5 separate regions of the Homo sapiens genome follow, and all the other regions are linked to region 3. The links are contacts of gene promoters, found by promoter capture Hi-C in blood cells and fetal thymus (Javierre and others, 2016). All regions are on one chromosome and are shown on one strand. The core of a region is centred on a gene start or on the middle of the fragment in contact, and the rest is flanking DNA. Distances in the headings are between cores, read along the strand shown. Region 1 has its middle 7.1 kb from the start of PLCXD2. Region 2 has its middle 660 kb from the start of NECTIN3-AS1. Region 3 holds the start of NECTIN3 (nectin cell adhesion molecule 3). Region 4 has its middle 710 kb from the start of MIR4445. Region 5 overlaps CD96 (CD96 molecule).

Region 1 (2,700 bases), core at 184-2,683, 600 kb before region 3:
TTAAAATGTTCTCCTCAGGGGATTTTTATGTCTCAAATGTTTGAGATGAAGGCTTTGAAATGTCAACAAATTTCTCTTTTTTAAAAAAGTTAAAATAGGTAGAATGGCAGAGTAAACAATTCTTATCCATGCTGCATATAACTTTATGCAATTAGGAAGACTATTTTGGCAGAGATAGTTGATCTCAACTAGCAGGAAAATCAATTGATCTGCCACCCTTACCTTTTTTTTCTCCAGGCTACCACCCCACCCCAAGGTTCCTAGAATTATGAGAATTATGTCTATTATTAGGAGACATTGTTGTATTAATGTGTATATTAGTAATCACTTGAGCTTCAGTCACAACAGAATGACCTCTGTGCATTTGTTATCATTTAACCAATCTAATCTTGGGAATGCATTCTTTTAACAACATGACTCTGCAATTTGGTGTGCCACTATCAATTGGAAATAGCATGATGCCACCTCATCCATGGAGTAAAAATTAGTAATATTATCATTACCTAATACTATCATTCTCTTCCAACTTTTTAAATATTAAAATTACAAGTTTGTACAAACAACCTTAACCAACAAAAATATTTTTTAATAAAGTAAATAAATTTCAATGTAAATAAAAGTAATGAATTTTTAGTGTGTCAACAACTCTCTCTGATCAACTCTCTCTGAATGTTAGGTTGTAGTCAAAAGCCCTTACAAATGCTTCTTGGCCTTTTGATGATTTTGTTTCAAAGGATTCTGATTTGCTTAAGTGTCTGTAGTTAACTCCCCAACTCAGCCACGTGTTCGGCTCTGCCCTTCCTAAACTGCAGAAACTGGTCATGGAGGAAGTTGTAGTTTATCTTAGCAACATCTGCACCCACAGCTTCCTCTTCCTTTGAGTAGCAGAAGTAAAAGAGAAAGTAAAATTTATGCCACACATCTTTCTGTTTCAGCCAAGTATAAAGGAGAATATTCTAGAAGTCAGAGTTAAGCAATATAATGAAGTAGAGGAGGAAGTGAGTTCCTATAACTGGAAGCATCCAAGCCAAGCTTGGCACCAATAAGACAGTAACATGATAGAATTGAAGCACCTGATGCTTGATTGAACTACATGAACTTCACGGTCTTTCCAACCGTACTCTGTTTTTTTCCCTCTGCCTGCTGTAGATACCTTTTGTCTTTGCACAGTTAAGCCTTTCTTTCCTTTTTATTGCCTTTCCTCACTCAAATCTTTGACTTCATTTGCTGTAGTCAGGACTAACAGAACTTCTATATAAATATGGACCTAATATTCTAAAATCATGCGGCTACCAGCAAAAGCTTGAGATTGTGTTTTGGGGAGTACCTTTATACTGGTAACACGTTCTAGCCTCTGGGGACACCTCAACATTTTCTCTACCCTCTCCCCGCATTCAGCACCCAGGATGAGATGCGCTTAGCTCAGGCAGTCAGGCTCAGAAAACACATAATGAAGCTCTCAGAGTGGGAAGTATGAATGACCTGGATGGAAGTCACCTTTAGTGCCTCCATCACCTCCACAGTGGTAGGATTGATGTGTGTGCGGCCCGAGGGCAAAGCTTCTCAACTCTTGCGCCAGATGTGCCCTAATCATGGAGCTGAGTAAATGCACACTCCCCAGAGCCCTGTATGGCAGGCATGACAAGCACTGATCCTGGCATTTCTTTCAAGCTGCATAGTTTGTTTTTGTAAATTCATTCACATTTTGTTACACACACACACACACACACACACATGCACACACACACACAAAATTGATGTTCTGGATGTGCTATGTTTGCCCTGTGGCTTCGAGTCCCTTCTGGCACACGCCTTTATTCTTGGGTACTTGTGACCCCTAATGTGAAAGTCCTAGGTCTGGAAGAAAGGCACCAAGAAGTCAATTAGGCACAAGAAAGCTCTGTTCACTCATGGCCCAGCCAACTTTAGTAAAGTAGAAGACTATGAGTGGATTTGAAACCAAAGCTTGAAATCGTGTCTATTTGCCCAAACCTTAGGCAACCTGGAGCAAACGCTGGTGAAGAATCAAGATTATGAGCCATTAGACTGTCTTCTTAAAGAGAGTAGAGAACTGAAAGCTTCCCACCTAAGCTTAACTCCCTCCTCTTGAGTTGACCAGGAGAAAGTTTCACTTGTAGGGCTCATCCTGCCCTTCTGGTACCGAATGTACAATATTAAAGCCTGATAAATTTACACAGCGGAAGTAGAAGACAAGAGGCCTCTGACTCAGGTCTCAAACTCCTATGAATCTTTAGCCTGCTGAGGTATGTTCTTGCTCCAAGAGTTTTAGACTAAGTTTCCTCACCTGTCTAGACTGGTGTTCTGTGTCTACTTACTTGAGTCTTCACTGATTCCTTGGATCTGTTTTTTTTTTTTTTTTCCTCTGCACCTATGATGCCTGCCTGATTCTACCAATCTGGGCTAAACTTTGAAACTGACTCAGTGGCCTATTCAGCCTAAGGCATCTGCCAAGCTGCCCAGATTTAGGTCCTGACCTCTCCTGGCCTGACTGACATGCCACAATAAAAATCATTAGAAGAAGAGCATTGATTTAAAGTGGATATATTAGTCTGTGATGTGAAGTGAGTCAAAAGAAAAGCTCAACTCACCATACTTGAGTGACAATCACCACCTTTAGCAAATTCTCTGCTCCACAAGGCATTTTTCTTTCTCCTACTCACTCATTTGCCATTTCCTGTC
Region 2 (2,700 bases), core at 143-2,642, 660 kb after region 3:
GTATGAGAGCAGAACTTTAGATTATAATGACTATGGGCCAGAAAATACAATGCTATGTAGAAATTGAATTGAACAAATATCAGTATTTTAAGCAAGAGAAGTTTGTAGGAAACAGAATATCTTCAGTAAAATAAAATAAGGTTAATTAAAGCTATTACCATTTATTTTATTTTAGTCATATCCTCTTTACTCAATACTTTTGAAACAATCTATAATGAAGGACAACAAAGTTAATAAAATTAGAATTATTAACAGTAGTAGAAAGCAAGCAAATGGAAGGTTGAATCATTCAGAATTCTTGGTTACAACTAAGAGAAATAGATCCTAGATGATGTAAGCTGAAAAGAGGTCAAAGAAACTGTGAAACTCAGGTGGTCCAATCCCCTCAGTTTTTAATTGACACAATTAAGAATGGTTTAAGCTACTCTTTGAGGTCTCATAGATTAATTGTATTAATGCCATGAGTCATGAGTTTTCCTTATATTCTCTTACACTTTTTAATGTGCTTTATTTGATCCCTTGAATACTTTCTTGTGCCTCTTGGGTGTGAACACTTTTATAAATTTGCATTTATTTTTTTCCTATTCTTCTGACATATAAGAATATATAATGAATAAGTGACAACTGATTAGAAAAGAGTGTTACATTTCACAGTAAAATGTATAAATAAGTGCAAATTAATTATCTGTTTTTTGAAGTAAAAAGATTTTAGAGGTCATTCTTCTAATCTTCAAAAGTTTTTGAGAAAGGGATGCAAACATTTTATTGGCATTTTCTAGGCATAATCTGTTGTATTTGCCAAAGCTTTGTCATTTGTGAGTAATACAGACAAAAGAAATTCCTAGCCAGGCGCAGTGGCTCACGCCTGTGATCCCAGCACTTTGGGAGGCTGAGGTGGGCGGATCACCTGAGGTTGGGAGTTCAAGACCAGCCTGACCAACATGGAGAAACCCTATCTCTACTAAAAATACAAAATTAGCCTGGCGTGGTGGCGCATGTCTGTAATCCCAGCTACTCAGGAGGCTGAGGCAGGAGAATCACTTGAACCCGGCAGGCAGAGTTTGCAGTGGGCCAAGATGGCGCCCTTGCACTCCAGCATGGGCAACAAGAACAAAACTCTGTCTCAAAAAAAGAACGAAAGGATTTCCTGCCAGTAAAACTTTGATATTACAGAAATGTATTTATATATCATATATTTAATGTTTATGGAGAAATACTTTTAGTGCTATAATAGAAACATACCCTTTTGACTTTTTATGAAAAAAAATTACGTTAAATGTTCTTATGTTTGTATGTGCAATGTAATTAATTCTCTTAGTTGTATATTTAAGTAACACCAAATATAACTTTTGAAGTTTGTTTACAAAACAGATATTGTCCAAATAAATAGTTGTACTTTTAGTACTCACTTAAGGGCCCTTTCTTGACTTTTAACCACAGTGTATTACAATTTCAGTAATTCAATATGAAGAATTAAGGTGTGGTACCCACGTGGATTACTTAACTGTTAGGCTAAATGGAGAATTTTTAAAACATAGTTAGAATCTACTACTTTTTTAAAGGCATATTAAGTCTTTCAGTAAATTAGGATCTAAGAAAAAATTACAAGGGAAATTAGAAAATGCTTTGTAATGAATGAAAAAAAAAACAAAAAACAAAATACAACACACCAAAACTTAAGAGACATGGAAAAACCAGTGCAAAGTAGAAATTTATAGCTATAAATGCTTACATTAAAAGACAAGAAAAATCTCAAATCAATAACTTAACTTTACAACCTACAGAACTAGAAAAAGAACAAAATAAGCCCAAAGTAAGAAGGAAGAGGAAAATAATAAAGACTAGAGAAGAGATATATAGAATAAAGAATAGCAAAACAATAAAGACAATTAATAAAAATCAAAATCTATTTTTTGGAGAAATTTAAAAAATTGACAAACCTTTAATTAGATGAACTAAGAACAAAAAAGAGAAGCTTCAAATTACTAAAGTCAAAAAAGTAAGGGCATTACCACCACTTCAATTGTATGCCAGAAAACTGCGTAAGCAAGAAGAAATGGATAAATTTTGAGAAACAAAATCCTACCAAGAGTAAATCACAAATAAATTGAAGATTTGAATAGACCTATAAGAAGTAGGGAGATTGAATTTAAAAAAAAATCTTCCAACAAAGAAAAGCCTAAGACGTGATGGCTTTGCTAGTGAATTCTACCAAACACTCAAATAACTAAAACAAATCTTTCTCAAACTTTTCTAAGAAGCTGAAGAAGAGATAACATTTTCTGTGTCATTCAATGAGGCCAGCGTTACCCTAATACCAAAGCCAGACAAAAACACTACAAAAAAAGAAAACTGCAAATCAATTCCTTTATAAATCTTAATGCAAACATTTTAACAAAATACTAGCAAACTGAATTAAGCAGCATATTATAAGGATTATGCACCATTATAAGGAAATGCACCCCATTTATTTTGGGGATGTAAAAGTAGTTTAACATGCAAAAGCCAATCAATGCCCACATACAACATTAAGAATGTGAAGGAAAAAACAAAACACATGATCTTATCAACTGAGGCAGAAAAAGCATTTGACAAAATTGCACATACTTCCATGATTAAAAGTCTGAACAAATTAGGAATAGAAGGAAACTACCACAATATAATAAAAGCCATATTTGGAAAAACCCACAACGAATATAC
Region 3 (2,700 bases), core at 50-2,549:
TTATTTTCCCAAATCGCTGCCTCCCATTAATTACCACTTAAGTCCATTTCTCTTGCATGAGGCAGACTTTTTTTTTTTTTTTTTTTTTAGCACAGTCCTTAATAAGCAGGCTTCTAGTCTGGCATACCTGGGAAGAAAACTCAGAGACTAACTCCCAAATATGACAGGAAAACAGTAACATAACACGAGGGTCAAGAGATGGGAAACAGGCGCGTGACTGTTTTGGTTAGAACAGCCGGGGCACACAGTCCATGAAATCAGGTATTTAACACGTAAATCTTGTTCCTGCGGTTTGGTAAAATAAGCACGGGCAGTGTGAGAGACGTCCCACAAGCTGGAGGGCAGGGACGAGGGTCAATCTAGAGAGCTCCAGAAGCTGTCAGGGCAGAGCCGGGGGAGTGGGCACAAGACAGAAGAAAACTAGCTGTAGGGGATTCTGCGGCTGGGTGGGCTAAAATGGTGCCTTCTCCAGGGTGGAAGGCCATGAGAAGTGGACCCGGAGGCTTCATTCCATCGGGCTCCGGTCCCTAGGGTTTCTGGGCTCACAGCTCAAGTTTCACCGGGAAAAAAAGCGGCAAACGTGCATCCCGGCACCTTAACCTACGAGGGTTCCCAGAGAATGAGCGAGGAAGTAACGGTCCCCGGAGCAAACCCGGAGTTCGGCGCACGAAGCACCATCGCCAACCCTCGGCCATCCGCACGGCGACCCGCGCGGCCGCGGGGGAGGGCAGCGGGCCGCCGGCTCAGCATTCGCTGGCCTGGCCCTTCCAGGGCCTCGCCCCGGGCGCGGCGAAAAGTTTCCAGCCAAAGTCCTCGGCACTCGCTCGCACAACCAACCGCCTCGCTGCTCCAGAGAACGGCTGGCAGAGCCGGCCGCGGCGCCCGCACCCTCAGTGGCGGCTCCCTCAGCCCACGCCGGCCGCCGAGGTTCACCTACCACAGAGCCTGGAGAAGAGCAGCAGCGGGAAGAGCAGCAGCAGCAGCGGAGGTGGCGTCGGGGGCTGCAGCAGGAGCCCGGCTCCGAGGAGAGAAGCGGAGGAAAGTTGTGCTTTGCCGCCTCCAGGACACAGCGGGGACGGCCGCAGGGTCCGCGCCATCCCCCACCCTCCCCCCGGCCCGCTCGCCCGCCCGCCCCCCGGCTCCCCCGGCCCCGGCGCCTCAGGCTCTGGGCGGAGGCTGTGGAAGGTCCGGCGCGCGCGTCCCCAGCTCCCAGCTCTAGCGCCGTCGCTGCCGGCTGACACTTGGCCGAACGCTGGCGGCTGCCTCGACACCGCCGTCGCCGACGCCACTGCCGAGGCTGAAGCGGGAGCCGCCCGCCGCCGCCGCCACTCCCCTCCCCTCGGCACCCGCCCGCGTCGAACTCCTGGGAACTCGGAACGCACCACCCCGCCCCACGCAAGAGGGGGAAAAGAAACCGACTCTCAGAGCGGGCGCCCGACTCGCCCGCCCTCCCCGCGCAACTCCACCTCCCGTCTGATCCCCGGGCGCAAGCCCTGTCTCCTCCCACCCCGCCCTCCTACACATGCTCCTCCCCTTTCAAAAAAAAATATTCTTTTCATCCACTTTGATAACGGGGTTTCTCCCACAGCAGAGATTTAAAAGGGACAGGAAAATCTGGAATAGGTTAGTCGGCCCCGCCCCTCGTTCCTGCCTGGTTTCCCCCCTTCCCTGCCTTTCCAATGGTCTCGCCCACTCCACCCCTCGCGGGTCCACGGGGGCCCCGGCGCCGACTGAGGCGAGGGCTGCGGGACAATCACGCTCGGCCTTCTCCTCTCCCGGGCGGCGCTCTCCCTGTGGCGGGGACCTGGGACGAGGGGGTGGGGTGGGGAGGGGAAGGCAGGAGGGGGCTGCCCTTCCGTTGCCCATGCTAAAGGTTCCTGTGTAGGAAGCTGGACGCAGCCTGCTGGACTAGTAATCTTCCTCCTCGCTGGGGCGCGGGGCACTGAAGGGAGGGAGAGACTTTCTCCTCCTTCCTGTTCCCCGGGACAGCTGTGCTCTCCGAATCCTTCCCTTCTTCCCAGCCCACTTATTCCCCGCTCGCCAAGGCACGTTTGCACAGGCATTTTTCCTGCTCTTTTTTCTGGGAGGGCAGCTTGGTAGAATGGTCGGCGGAGCTGGGCGAGGAGAGGGGTCTTCAGAAGGTTTGCTTTCTTGCTCTTGCTTCTCACTGGCCGCTGGGCTGTCCACTTTCCGCGCCGGGCGACTGGCAACAGGAGGCCATGGATTTCCCCCAACGAGTGCGTTGGTGTTTTTCTTTGGTTTTGTTTCCTTTGCATGTTCGTATGTGTAGTTTTATTTTCTTGCCTGTTTTCGTTTGATGGCAGAGAGGCGACCTCGGGAAGTATTAAACATTTGCCCGTATAAGAAGAGCGTCTGTGGTCCACCATGACCCTCGCTCATCCCAGGTGGCTCTCCGCCCTGCCCTCTCCATCCTCCCGCCTCGCACAGTACCGGCAGCTTGACCTTGGAGCCACTGCCACATTGGTTCCGCGGGGGGAGTAGGAGGGTGGACAATTTGGACTGTCCAGCGTAGGGGGTGAATTGAAGGCAGAGGACACCAGTCCTCAGGCCTGACACTATTAATTTTATGTAGGTCCTGTCATCTCCACGAGATAGCCATAAATGTGTTCCAGTAACAGGAAAGCTGAACAAGGATCAGCCGCCCAGAAGTTAGCCTGTCGCAGCTAAACTAATGCATGC
Region 4 (2,700 bases), core at 55-2,554, 760 kb after region 3:
GTAATTTATGCTGGTTAGTAGATTGCCTTTGTTTGTCTGGCTTGTGGCACATAAACAGATGTCAAGAGAGAGTCTCTGTGCATTAATCTGAGTATGGAAACTGCTGACATAGCAGCTAATATAGCTGTATTATCCATCTACATGCTTGTTCTTTCCTGGTTTATACAGTAGGGCTTTTTGTCTGAATATAAATCAATAGAAAGGGAACTTTAGAGCTATTTAAAATTCTAGCCACTTGCACTAAAACATGAACCCCTTTGGTTATGTAATACTTCCACACATTTACTCATTTAGCAAAACCACAACTGTCTTCCTTTCCATCATCCTGAATTTGTGGGTCCGAAAGAACGCACTTAAAAATACATTTCCAAAAAAGTCATACATTCTTTAAAAAAGGTAACTATTTTACAAACAGCAAATTATTAAGAAATTCTTTACTGGTAAAAAGATGATTTTAATAGAGTTTACCTATTAAAGCCTATAAGAAATAGCATGCTTCTTTTTCAAGCTACAGCCATGTCGAATTGTACAACTTTCCACTGAAGCTTACATGTGCTACAGAATGCAAAAATGCTACACTTTGTGAAGTACTTGAGGAATTTGTGCTTACTGGTTTCTCCAATTAGCAATTTTTTTTGGTGTACTCTTTTTTAAAAATTTTATTTTAAGTTCCGGGGTACATGTGCAGGTTTGTTACCTAGGTAAATGTGTGCCGTGGTGGTTTATAATAAAGTAATAGAAATGAAAATGTTTTGTTTTGTTTTGTTTTTATGAGACAGAGTCTTGCTCTGTCACCCAGGCTGGATTGCAGTCATGCAAACTCAGCTCACTGCAACTTCCACCTCCCGGGTTCAAGCGATTCTCTTGCCTCAGCCTCCCAAGTAGCTGGAATTACAGGCGCCCACTACCACACTCAGCTAATTTTTTGTATTTTTAGTAGAGACGGGGTTTCTCTATGTTGGCCAGGCTGGTCTCGAGCTCCTGACCTCAAGTGATCTCTCTGCTTCGGCTTCCCAAAGTGCTGGGATTACAGGCGTGAGCCACTGCACCTGGCCTGAAAACGTTCTTAAGATAAATGATGAAGTGTAAAATAAGATTCCTGTTGTTTAGGATTCTCCAGCTTGATAACTTTTTTTTGTACACACACCGTGGAAAAAAGTTGGCAGAAAATAAGTCAGGAAACAAAATATAAATTTACTTATACTAAGTTTGACCTATATGACCACAGCTTTTCCATTGCCATGTTGCAAGACTGATGAGTATATATTTATTCAAATAATCATTCTCTCTTTCCAAATAACCCCATTGTGCTGTTTCTGCTTTTTTGTTGTTGTTATTAGAATTACCTTGATATCATGCAGCGTGCTTTCTTAAATAACCTCACTGGTAAGAATGATTTATTTTCTGAGGGTGGCTTTGAGAAGCTGCTCAGTCACTTAAGGGTGGCTAGTGATAAGATGAAATGATCAATGTGATTAATATTAATTGGGACAAAATAATACAGTGATTCTTAAAGTGTGATTCCCCAGATTAACAGCCTCAGGATACCATGGGGCTCTCATTCAGACCCAGAGTGCTCTGTCTACCCTCAGAGTTTCTGATCATTTCGTTGAGGGTGGGACCTGAAAACGTACTTTTCTAAAAAGTTTCCAGGTGATACTGATGTGGTCTGGAGACCACATTTTGAGAACCACTGAAAGAATATGGGATCTTAAAATTATTATCCTGAATTCTTTTATTATTTTAAACTGCTTTTGAAGGCAATTTCAAAGAGTTCTTAAAAGTCAGTATTATTAGGAAAAGTTTAAAACCTCTTGAAGTTATTCTTTTTATAGGAAAATATTCTGTAAATTATTTTGCCTTGGTTTGTAAACAAAGCACCCCAGGGCTTTATCGCTAGCCCTGGAATGCCAGATTAACACAGCCTGGAAGGAACCAGGGTTATAGAATGGGAATACTTAGTGTCACGTCTGCCCAGCCACTTTTTCTCTGGTATCACAAGAATGGGGACAGATGATTTTGAGTTCAGCTTTCTAACCTCCAGAATGTTGCTAGAAGCTTAACGTGCATCTTTATTTTTCTATCCAAGAAAAAAAAATAAATCTGAATTAAATTTAAACATTCAACTAAGTTAAATTTGGGAGATCTGATTCTTAGGAATTGTTAAAAATCTGATCATGTGGCTTAACTATATGAAATTCTTCAAAGGACCTCCCCCTATTGGGGATTGTGTGTCTTCCCTGTGAGATACTGAGTTCCATGAGACCAGAAATCATTTCTGTCAGGAGAATTGTTGTGTATTTAGGGATTCAAATGGTACGTAGAACAGAATAGGCACCCTGTGAATTTATTTTGGATATTGGAGTCCAAGATCTTTGATACATAATGCTTTTCATGTTCTGTTCCTTTCTTAGTCTTCTCTCTATCTCTTATCACACTATACTTTGAATCATACAGAAATACTGATTTTGCTTGGCCTTTCTGAAAAGTGTCATGATCTTTGTCACCGACACAGAACCAAATGACACTATTTTTAATATTTGTTGACAAATGCTGTCATAGTCTTTGGAATACTAAGGTAGAATCAGGCCTGATTTAGTAATTTGCTACTGGGTCCTGAAGACAGGTTAGTATTTTGTCTGCATATTTAGTTTAAATGAATTATTAATTAGCAGAAATAATAACTGTTTTAGATGTAAC
Region 5 (2,700 bases), core at 165-2,664, 540 kb before region 3:
TGGGAATCTCCAGGCTCCAGCATGGGTGCCGACTCTGTGTGATGCTGCTGCTGGACCAGATGTATGGCAAGCAGTTTCTGCTGCAGGCACTGGTGTCTGGACAAGGGGAACACTGTGGCACCAGAAAGCTTGGAGATGCCAGGAACTGTAGAGCTCCAAAGAGGGTTTTACAGCCCTGGCCTGGGAGGCCTTAGGTCTGGGCTCCCTGAAGGGCCACAGCTCTTCTCTCCTTCTCATTGCTTGCAATGTGGTGAGCAGGTGGGAGGTGTGTTTCAGCTGGGTTTGTGTTACAACTCTTTCAGTCCCACCATTCAGTAGGTCCCAAGTTCTTGTCTCGCCCCCAAGAAGAACGAGGTATGCTGACAACTGGAGGGTGAGCAAGGTGGAGAGGAGCTTCACTGAGCCACAGAACAGCTCTCAGGAGACCTGAAGTGGGTAGTTCCTTTCCATATGCAGGCTGTCCCAATGAGTGTCCAGCTCTCAGTGGAGAGGAGACCTGTAGTGGGTAGCTCCTTTCTGCAGGCAAGTTGTCTGGATGAGGAGACCCATAGTGGGTAGCTCCCTCCCACAGCTGGTAGTCTTGACTTCTTTCTGAGTCTGGCTGAATCCCCGGTTTTTCATGGGCTCAGAAGGGAGAAAGTGCATGGTGATTGGTCCATAGATGGCCATAGGCAGGCCAGGAAAAAGCACTATCCAATTGGCCCAGTGGTCATCGATGAAGTTATTACTCATATCCATGGACTTCACTTGGAACTGGCAGCCTGGCTCCCAGGCTTCAGGCCATGCCTGGCCTGAAGGTGGGGTTTCACTGGGGACCTACACCTTTCCATCCAGGAACCTAGTCAGCCTCCCACTGTCATCATGCCTTCCATAGCCCAGGCTGTTTGCACCAAATGGCACCTGCAGGCCTGCACCCAGCTGCCCTCAGCCCATCTCCACCTGCTGCCTCCTTCCTGTGCTCCTTGGCGCCCAAAGTCTGGAGGGGGCCAAGGTGGGGGATTGGTGTGTCAGTGCTGCCCCAAGTGTGCACACACCTGGCCAGGTTGTGACAGTGCCTGGGCTGAGCCTCATCTTTGCTCTGAAATTGGAGCAGGTGCTGGGAGTGGGAAGAGTCCAGGGGGTGGAAGCAGGCCCTTCTGAGCCTGCAGAAGCGGGGGTGTTCCCAGGCCCTCAAGAGAGCAGGGGTGTCAGGGTCTGGAGCCACAGCTGGGTGGCTGCAGCTGCCCTGAAAGCCCAGGGCTCCTGCCTTGCCAAGTCAGTAGGGGGCAGGCTCCCTCCTGTTCTCAGCCTCTACGGGCTCAACAGTCCCAGCCAGGCCTCCCTCACTACAGCTGGCATCCCCACAGCAGCTAGTCCAGTCGGGCAGCTGCTGCCATCAGAATGACTTGCTCTAGGCTACAGAGCCAGTAGGTGGCAGAGACAACAACTGAACCCAAGGCTGTCTGACACTAAAGACTATATTTATTCCATTCTGGTAGCCTTATAAGTGTAGTTAGCCTTGCTGCAGCATGCATCATCATCATCAGGGCCTAGCCACGGAAGAGCTCACTCATGATGTCTAGCACGCAACCACCCAGAATAGCAGGCCTTTGATAGCTTCTCTTCCTGTCCCACCACCACCTTTCAGCTTCCTGTCCCACCACCACCTTTCAGCTTCCTGTCATAAGGCTACCCAGACATCAGCCCTAGCCAGATGGCTTTTCTTTAGGGAGATATCCTCTGCATTCCCTAAAGCCTTCCTTTGTTAATCTCTTCTTTTTTATACTTAAAAAAATTCTCCATTTAAAAAATATTTACTGAATTATCAATACTTATTGGTAACCATGTGTTATCATTGTTCTAGGTGATACAGCTGTATCAGTAGACAAATAAGATAAAAAACACTGCCCTCATCAGATTTACTTTTTTTATGTGTGGAGAGGAGCCAAACAGGTAACTTATAGACGGTGTTAAAATGTGTTATGGAGAAAATACAGCCAAAAAAGGGGAACAGGAAATGGGGTGGGAGGCAGCTGCAATTTAAAATATGATGGTCATGGAGTACCTCATCGAGAAGGTGACATTTGAACAAAAATTTCGAGAAGATGAGGGTGTGATCCATGTAGATATTTGGGGGAAGAATTTTTCAGGCATAGGAAGTGAGGTTAAAAGGCCCTGAGATGAGAGAAATCCTGGTATGTTGAAGAAACAGCTAGGAGGCTAGCTTGGCTGAGCAAAGCAAGAGAAAGGGAGAGGGCAGTCGTGGGGGATATATCAAGTAGGGTATAATGTGGCTTTTCATGCTAACTGTAGATTTCTGCTCATCTTTACTGCCCACTTCCCTCCTCCCCTCACTAGATGTTGGTCCTTGTGAGCCTGGTTTTGTTTACATCAGTATCTATCTCAAGTAGATACATAATTCTAAACCTAGATTATTTGCTTTCATTCTAAACCTAGATTATTTTTATTAAAACACACATGCACGCAGACACACACATACACACACACCCCTTAGACAAAGACAGACTGGTCAATCAGCCACTCTATTTCCTACCTTGGGTTCTTACTGTATTTCCAAATGGATTTAGAGGTTCTAATAATAGAATACAACATGTTGACACTTACTGTGAACCAAGTGCTATAGAAGGTATTTTGTTTGCTTAGTCTCTTCTGTTGCTTTTAATCACCCTTAGAAGAAGGAACCACCCACGTGAAAGCTTT

What was found. The method cuts DNA at HindIII sites, captures the fragments that hold promoters and counts their contacts. A CHiCAGO score of 5 or more calls a contact.
Region 1: a contact is called between a fragment that was not itself captured here and the fragment with the promoter of NECTIN3 in region 3, in 1 of 17 cell types (fetal thymus). The highest score is 5.9, in fetal thymus.
Region 2: a fragment that was not itself captured here is called in contact with the fragment with the promoter of NECTIN3 in region 3 in 1 of 17 cell types (endothelial precursors); the score reaches 5.2 in endothelial precursors.
Region 4: a contact is called between a fragment that was not itself captured here and the fragment with the promoter of NECTIN3 in region 3, in 1 of 17 cell types (endothelial precursors). The highest score is 5.2, in endothelial precursors.
Region 5: a contact is called between a fragment that was not itself captured here and the fragment with the promoter of NECTIN3 in region 3, in 2 of 17 cell types (activated CD4 T cells and non-activated CD4 T cells). The highest score is 6.4, in activated CD4 T cells.

What each region holds. Positions count from the first base shown.
Region 1 is chr3:111,666,223-111,668,922 of GRCh38, reverse strand. No RefSeq gene overlaps it. Among named protein-coding and RNA genes, the nearest start is that of PLCXD2, 7.1 kb to the left of the region's middle. RefSeq lists an enhancer at 939-988. The HindIII fragment of the contact is 257 bases long and covers 1,305-1,561 here.
Region 2 is chr3:110,409,167-110,411,866 of GRCh38, reverse strand. No RefSeq gene overlaps it. Among named protein-coding and RNA genes, the nearest start is that of NECTIN3-AS1, 660 kb to the left of the region's middle. The HindIII fragment of the contact is 1,171 bases long and covers 807-1,977 here.
Region 3 is chr3:111,070,415-111,073,114 of GRCh38, reverse strand. It overlaps NECTIN3 (nectin cell adhesion molecule 3), which reads right to left and starts at 1,299. Exons shown (of 6, transcript NM_015480.3): 1 at 938-1,299. The coding sequence starts at 1,097. It overlaps LOC151760 (putative uncharacterized protein LOC151760), which reads left to right and starts at 1,349. Exons shown (of 4, transcript XR_007096272.1): 1 at 1,349-1,623. RefSeq lists a silencer at 1,472-1,571. The HindIII fragment of the contact is 3,046 bases long and covers 1-2,700 here.
Region 4 is chr3:110,309,133-110,311,832 of GRCh38, reverse strand. No RefSeq gene overlaps it. Among named protein-coding and RNA genes, the nearest start is that of MIR4445, 710 kb to the right of the region's middle. The HindIII fragment of the contact is 1,513 bases long and covers 548-2,060 here.
Region 5 is chr3:111,615,371-111,618,070 of GRCh38, reverse strand. All of the region lies in intron 8 of CD96 (CD96 molecule), which reads right to left. Among named protein-coding and RNA genes, the nearest start is that of ZBED2, 21 kb to the right of the region's middle. RefSeq lists enhancers at 567-1,067, 1,068-1,568. The HindIII fragment of the contact is 2,568 bases long and covers 131-2,698 here.